Regions from separate parts of the Homo sapiens genome. Here region 2 is linked to region 1. Evidence: promoter capture Hi-C in 16 types of primary human blood cells and fetal thymus (Javierre and others, 2016). All regions are on one chromosome and are shown on one strand. Each heading gives the region's core, a stretch centred on a gene start or on the middle of the fragment in contact. The rest is flanking DNA. Distances are from core to core; before and after follow the strand shown.

What was found. Contacts are between HindIII fragments. The CHiCAGO score rates a contact against its expected background, and 5 or more counts as called.
Region 2: a fragment that was not itself captured here is called in contact with the fragment with the promoter of ABHD10 in region 1 in 3 of 17 cell types (endothelial precursors, M1 macrophages and M0 macrophages); the score reaches 6.7 in endothelial precursors.

What each region holds. Positions count from the first base shown.
Region 1 is chr3:111,976,754-111,980,890 of GRCh38, reverse strand. ABHD10 (abhydrolase domain containing 10, depalmitoylase) reads right to left here and starts at 1,865. Exons shown (of 5, transcript NM_018394.4): 1 at 1,688-1,865. The coding sequence starts at 1,829. RefSeq lists enhancers at 1,626-1,675, 1,696-1,745, 1,756-1,805, 1,664-2,223. The HindIII fragment of the contact is 3,690 bases long and covers 561-4,137 here.
Region 2 is chr3:111,758,525-111,762,617 of GRCh38, reverse strand. It overlaps a transcript of PHLDB2 not described here. Among named protein-coding and RNA genes, the nearest start is that of PLCXD2-AS1, 83 kb to the right of the region's middle. The HindIII fragment of the contact is 3,296 bases long and covers 344-3,639 here.

The sequences.
Region 1 (4,137 bases), core at 616-3,115:
TCAACCAAGAAATCATGAGCCATGGTAACAACTCATAATTTTATTGTCAGCTGAGGTGGGTTCAATGAGCAGTTTCTTTAAAAACAACATATGATAGTATCGTTTTTGGAAAGAGATTTCTTATAGACCTATGCAATCACTTTGCGTTTTGTTGGTTTGGCTTTCTGTAAATGGTACACAGAGATTTTAGTGTAATTTAAGTACAACAGTACAATTGGTGAACTTCATAAGATTATCCTACTTCATCTTTTTCAAATTTTCCCCCATTATAAAATCTATACTTGCTCTTAAGAAACAAGTAGATATTTTTTTAAAAGAGTCATTTATAATCCCACCTCTTCTTTCCAAAGACACTAGTTTTGTGTACTTCCTTAGAGTCTTTGGACTAATACATTTTCTTTTTTTATATTAAATGAAGCCGTCCTCCACTTTGAAAACTTCTCAGTCTTGAGAAGAGAATCCATGTGTGCTGCTAAAGTTTTCCCCATTTTGTAATTAAGAAGTTGATTTTTTAAAGATGTAACTGAAGGCCTTAAAGTTATCCTTTTTACATAAAAGCTTGTTTCAAAGTATAGAGAAATATGCCAAATTTAAAACTTTTGGTAAGGACCAGTTATGCTGATCCACTCATGTTCATTTCCCATCTACTCAGCTGAGCACTAAAAAAAATTCTCACTATCCTCTTCCAGAAATCACCTCTTAAAACATAATTTCCCCGAGATGATTATAATTTATTTAATGTAAGTTCTAAGTAGACAGATTCATATAATTATATTCATAAATCATCTTTGAACATAAGGATTAATTCAAAGCCTGGTGCATAAGTGCTCAATGAATAAGTGCTAACTAGATGAAATAATATTATACTCTGGTTAATGAATTGACATACTACATTTTACTAGGAGTATTTGCATGTGTAACATGCCTTTTGGTTGCGCACAATTAAATGCAAGTTAATCTGATTATAAAAGTTTAAAAACTGGATACAAAAATCTCCATACAAAAGATCTCTGCCGTGACATTAATTACCACTCCAAGCACCATGCATCATCTGACAGCTACGTGGCAATGGTGTGAACCACACACAAAGCCAAAAAAATAAAAGGATCTAATTCAAAGACTATATATACATATAAGAGGTTCTCTGATTTTTAGCCCAAATTCTAGTTTCCTTTGTGCAATAATGATTATGGTTCTTTCACTGAGTGGGTGCAGCAAGAAAGCAGAACTAGAAATTAGGCTTATGAGGGCGTCTACACTTTTACAAAGAACATGCCTCGCATTGTTAGGTTCCCTAAACTCAAAGGAGAGTCAGTCTAAGCATTTTAGGAGTCACAATCTACAAATTCCTAGAAGTAACTAATAATAATGCATTAAATGCACATTTTAATTTTTTCTAGTGTTGGCCTTTAATGCAGGGGAGGCAGGTAAGGAGCAGGAGCTCTTTAAACTGCACAGTGTAAAACGCCAGCGAGGGCCCGGGGTGCCCAGAATGCCGCAGGGCCGCGGCAGAGCTCTCCTCACAGCCTTCACCAGAAGTCTACAAAGCGCCTAGAACTGGGGTGTTGAGAAAGGGGGAGGAGCATTTTTGAACCGGGCGCCAAAGACGCACTGCACAGGCACGGTAACTGACGGAACCCGAGGCGTTCGAAAGAACGCATCCTACTCCCGCCTTTCGGACACTGACCTGGGAGCCACCGTGGCGCCCGCTGAGGTATCCGTGCAAGCAGCACGCTGAGGCCACGGTGGGGACCGAAGGGGACGGCTGCCCAGCCCCAGCTCCGACAAGGTACCCAGGCCGCCACAGCTGCCAAGCGCGCAACCGCCATCTTCGTAGTTGTCCCCGCACCCTGCAGTGTCCCACTGAGGGACACGCTACGCAACGGAACCGAGGCTGCGCATGCGCTTCAGGCTGGAAGGCGGAACTTGCTAAAGAGCTCCCCGCAAGATTTTCAGCTTGCGAAGAGCGCACATGCGCAGAGCGTCGTGGCTCTTTCGTTTAGACTGTTGGTTCTACTAGTAGCGGGGTTTGGCTTGGGGCCTTTAAGATGTTTTGAGTGGCGTCGGGAGGCTGCCCTATCAGCGGGCTGATAGATACTACAGAGCTGGAAGCTCAGAAAGGAACCCTATCCAACGGTCCTAGATGGGAAACGTCTCCTGTCGAGGACACCAGGCTTGCTGCATCACCTGCAATCCCGCCGACCGCGTGACAGTTTTAACCTGTACTGGAAATGCTCCCAAGATCTGACATTAATCTCGCCTGTATAACCTGGAATGGTATCGGACATTCCCCGCTCTAGATCTATATGCCTGATTAACGAAATACTGAATTATCTTGGCCCCCTCCTCGTGCTATATGCGAAAATAAATTTCAGTAAAAAAAGATTTCAACGGAAGAATACAACTGAGAGGATTAAATAAATTTTAGGAGAATATTATATAATCCGGGGACAGAAGGGACTTTCTTAACCAAGATTTCAAAACCCCAACATCATAAATAAAAAATATATTTGTATACGAATTTAAACTTTTTGAATGGCAAAAGACACCTCAAGTTAAGAGCTTAGAAAAATGGATTTTGTAGCATAGATACATTAATACTTCTACTCAGCCTGCTCCTATAAATAAGAAATATAATTCAAATAAAATTGGCCAACAGCTATAAATAGGCAGCCCATATAAGGAAACATGATGCTCAAACTCACTAAATGAAAAACTGGAATTAAAAAAATAATGCCTTTTTCCCCCCATTCAGTTGGCAAAAAAGAAAAATAATTGGCAAGGATGCTAGACACTAGCACTTATGTATGATTGCTAGGAAGGTGAATTACTAAAATTTGTTGTGAAGTAATATGGCCACATCTATTACAATTTTAAAATATGCATCCATTCCAGTGCCTTTTAACGCAGTGGCACCAATTTGTGATTATCCTATAGAAAAACAACACTAGTTCTTAAGACTGCATATTATCTACTACACCGTTTTTAGAGGCAAAGAGAAGGAAAAAAATGGGAATGGCTAACAATAGAAAAATAGTTGAATAAATTGTAGTACAAGGGTTTCCGGACTCCAGCTCTAAATACCTTTCAAACTAATTCCTGGGGGCCTCAAGCATCAACCATGGAGTTTTACGTAGTAGTTTCCTATTTAAAAGTTATGGTGGCTTGTGTAATACTTTGAGTATATATAAGATAGTAAAGTAACTTTTATTATCCTGGTTATAAATTTGGGGGGCAGTAATTGGTACCAGAATTAAAGGCAAAGTTTGGATATAGTGAATCCAGCATGTCTTTGGAGTCGTGAGAACCTGGACTGTTGGAACAGTCTGGAACAGTTAGATAAATAAAGACTGAATAGATCTCTTTCTTGAGAGGTGGGATGCCTCTCTCTACTAAGGACATATAGTTAAGGACAGCAACTTGATTTCAGGACATACTCCAAAAGATGCTGAGCTATGTTGCCCGTTCTCCATTAGACCTGTTGTAGACTCTAAGGGACTAAATCACTAAGGTGATGCCTGATGCATGTCATTTCATCATCCCTTATATTTCTTTTTTGGGTTTTTGTGTGTGTGTGTGTGTATGTTTTAGACTGAGTCTCGCTCTTGTCACCCAGCCTGGAGTGCAATGGGGCGATCTCAGCTCACTGCAACCTCCACCTCCTGGGTTCAAGCGATTCTCCTGCTTCAGCCTCCTGAATAGCTGGGATTACAGGCACCGACCACCATGCCTGGTTAATTTTTGTATTTTTAGTAGAGATGGGGTTTCACCATGTTGGCCAGGCTGGTCTCGAACTCCTGACTGCAGGTGATCCACCCCCCTTGGCTTCCCAAAGTGCTGGAATTACAGGTGTGAGCCACCGCACCTGGCCCATCCCTTATATCTTAACAAACACTTCTCTCTGCATGTTTTGGATAATTGCAAATATTCTCAATCACTTCTCTCCCTTTTCTTCCCCTTTATTTTTGCAAGTCTTCTTGCATTTTACTTGCAGTAAGATGAAAAATCTGACTGGTCATAGTGGGAAAATCACTGCACAGAAAAGCAGAGAAACCCATGGATTGTTTTCTGTATTCACTCTTGTTGTCTAACAAATTAGAAAAAATTATGGCCAGTAGCAAGTACAGATGCTTTTAC
Region 2 (4,093 bases), core at 742-3,241, 220 kb after region 1:
TAATCCTGACGAGTGTGGCCAGGTTCTTGGGAGGGCTGGGTGGAAGGTCTGGATCAGATCACACTTAGAGGCCTGTGATTAGAATGATGATAATTGTGGCATCACAAGGCATAACTTCAGAGCGCTCCCTAGGATGCCCTTGGGCAAGGTACTTAACCCTTCTGTGCCTTAGTTTCCAATATCTGAAAATGGGATAAACACCTCAAAATTTATTGACAGTGTCAAAACATTACACATATTGGCTATATAATAATAATATGGTAATGCTAGTTATATAATTAAATAATACATATAGTTAGCATTTATTGAGGCCTTACTATACATGAGCTATTGTGTTAAAGCTTCCTAAACATTATCTTCTTTAAACTTCACAACAGTCCTCTGAGATCAATTGTGTTATCCTTCCAGTACTGCAGTTTAGAAAAGTAAGTGACTGACTTAAGTTTATCACCTTAGGTAGTAGACTTGGATCTCAAATCTAAGTCTAGTCTGGCACCAAAACCCATGCAATGAACTAATAGCTAAGACGCTGGTCTGGTTCTCAGCTGAATGTGGCGGATGGGATTGGGGGGGCATCCCTTTTTGGATAAAATGTGTTCCTCTGACCCCTCATCCTCTCTTTTAGCAGTGCCCCTTTTAGGTGAACATACAAGCACCTATTTTAAGGAAATGTCAGGCTGGGGGTAATTACTCTGTAATTCTTCTTATGTATACACATTAAATAAATTTGTATGCTTTTTCTGCTATTAAAAAAAAATGTTGGGCTGGTTTTCCAGGTAAATAAACCAGTCATGGCCTCTGTGGCTCAATTCTGAAACCGGTATTGCCTAAAGCAGTGGGTCTTATGGTGTGGTATCCCCGACCAGCATCACCTGGGAACTTGTTAGAGCTAAAAATTCTCTTGCCCCACCCACATGTACTGAATCAGAAATTCTGGGTGTGTAGATCAGCAATCCTGTTTTAACAAGCCCTTGAAGTGATCTGAATGCAGCTGAAGTTTGAGAACGACTGGCCTCTGGGGTAGATAAAGCAGAGAGTTAAATCAGGAATAGAGATCTAACTATGATTCTTAACAGCTGCTAGTGACTCATTCTCCCTAGTCATTCTCTTCTGAGTTTCTGCCTTTTTAGGATGAAGGATTTGTTCACGTCCCATCTTGTGTGATAAATTTCATCAACAGTGTCAGTTCCTTTCTGAATCAATGCCGTGTATAAGGAGACTTTGAGCTTTATACACTCCCATGTGTACCCATACCCACTTCTGCTTTTGGAACCACTTGCTCATTTCCCATTGTGGATGATTAGCTTCAAATTATCTTCATGACAGAAGCAAAAAAATTGAATAACACTGTAGTTCTAGGTGGAATAGGAGGATCACAAAGCTGGGATTAGTATTCAAATGTGTTTAGTTTTTTTTTTCTTTTTTTTTTTTTTTGAGATGGAGTCTCACTCTGTCGCTAGGCTGGGGTGCAGTGGTGCCACCTTAGCTCACTGCAACCTCCACCTCCGGGGTTCAGGTGATTCTCCTTCCTCAGCCTCCCTAGTAGCTGGGACTACAAGCACGCACCACCACGCGCAGATAATTTTTGTATTTTTAGTAGAGACGGGGTTTCACCATGTTGGCCAGGATGGTCTCAATCACCTGACCTCGTGATCCACCCGCCTCGGCCTCCCATAGTGCTGGGATTACAGGCGTGAGCCACCACACCTGGCCGACTTAGTTCTAAAGGTTCCAAGCAGTGCTATGAATGAACTAAGTAGCATCCTGGCCCCTCTCCCAAACTTCTCACCTACAATTTATCACAAAAGATAAAACAACTAAAACTGAAAATGGAGAAAATTATTGCTTCAGTTTTTTAATCTAAGCTCTGATTCAAATTTTGCTTCTCAGCCTCACCAGTCCCACGTGGCTCTCAGGAAAAAAAAAACAAACAAAAAACTGTATACACATCGCAGAAGCAAGAAAACAGAACACGTTTTCTGCCTTCTAGTTCACTCCCCAGAAGCCAGAGTAAGATGAGTCCCGCAGTCCAACACAAACCTTTTAATAACCATGTAAACATAAATTTCAATAAAAAGAACTCCAACTTTGCTAGTTTGTTACAAAAGCCTAGTTTTTTATCTGAAATGCTGCTTTTCCTAATTGAAAAATAGTAGAAAATTTTATTTGACTTTGACAGAAAATGGAAGCTATGGTTATTGATGAGACCTGTATTTAGTATCTTTGGAGTAGGACAATTTTTTTTATCTCAACAAAGATGCATTGAAACTAAGTTTTGGTTTGAGGGATCTTTGGATTCCATCTTACAGTCCACGTAAGGTAAAATAGGAATTTTAAAAATGTAAACATGGTTTCTGCTGATGGACAATGTTTGTGAATTTCAAAAGAGTTTTGCTCAGCACTTTATATTGCTCTCTGGTCTTAACTTTAATTCATTGTGGACATACTGAAAGAATATCAGTCAGGAATATGGGTTAGCAACATGCACATGAAGGCAAGAAGTATTATGTGCATTAAACTCTGACCTAGTGGAAGTGAAGATTGCCTAGCAATGTCTCCCCTGAAATGCTTTTGCATAAGTATTGTGGCTACAGCCTGAATCCAATACAGAGGCATGAAGACACAGAAACTTCACATGGCTTTCTCTGTTTGACAGATACATTTAGATCTCTGCCCTTAAAGCCTCTTGTCCTACAAACTGCATATTGTTGCTATTATGAACCAACAATATTCCCAACGAACTCTTGATTGTCACCCAATTATAGCCTATTGATTAAGAATAAAAAATTTGGAAAGAGAGAAACTCAAATCCAAAATCTGACGTCATCTCTTGTAAGCTGTGTGCCCTTAGACAAATTACTTAATCTGAGATTTGTTTGCTCACTTATAAATTGGGGATAAAAATTTCCACCTTATAGGGTTGCATGATGACTGATTTGGATAATGTCCAATTACCTGGCCTTTAGTAGGTGTTATATTATTTTGCTGTCTTGAAACCATTTGGTGCAAAGAGTAACTTTACATGCTAAACATATATTCCTCACTGTGCATGCATACACACACACGGGATATACATACATACATATGTGTGTGTGTATATATACATGTAAATATATATAAAATCTCAATGTTGTGGTCTAAATGTTGGTGTCTCCTCAAAATTCATAAATTGAAACCTAATCACCAATGTGACAGCATTAGGAGAAGGAGCCTTTGGGTAAGGCTGAAACTCTCATGAATAGGATTGGTACCCTTACAAAAGAAACCCCAGAGAGCTAGTTTGTCCTTCCACCATGTGAGGACACAGTGAGAAGGCACCATCTACGAACCAGAAAGTGGATCCCCACTTGATACCAAATCTGCTGGTGTCTTAATTGTGGCCTTTCCAGCCTCCAGAATGGTGAGAAATAAGTTTCTGTTGTTCATAAGCTACCTAGTTTATGGTATTTTGTTACAACAGCCTGAGTGGACTAAGACAATCATTGAAAAAAAAAAAAGATATATCACTAGGATATTTATGCACATATATAATTACATTTTTACTCTAATCAGCTCTGAAGAGCAGTCATTTTTCTCCTTTCTTCCTTAAAATATCACAGTAAACTCTACTGACTGACTCCTAGTTTCTGGGATGAAGCTTATAGGCTAAAGATGGCCTGGGCCCCATATTGATAGGACCCATTAGCAAAACATAGCTTGTTGTCTCTGTCTGTGCCGCATCTAGTAGCTTATAAAACCATCTTCATGAGTTTATCGTGGTTGATGACTCACCCCTCCCATGGCTGCAATCCTATGAAACATGTCAAGCCATGGGTTCTTCAAGCTATATTAACAGCAAAATAGATGCACTTGAAATTTTTTTGTGGTCGAGCCAAGATGGCCGAATAGGAACAGCTCCAGTCTGCAGCTCCCAGCGTGAGCCACACAGAAGATGGGTGATTTCTGCATTTCCATCTGAGGTACCGGGTTCATCTCACTAGGGAGTGCCAGACAGTGGGCGCAGGTCAGTGGGTGCGCGCACACTGCACCAGCTGAAGCAGGGCGAGGCATTGCCTCACTCGGGAAGTGCAAGGGACCAGGCAGTTCCCTTTCC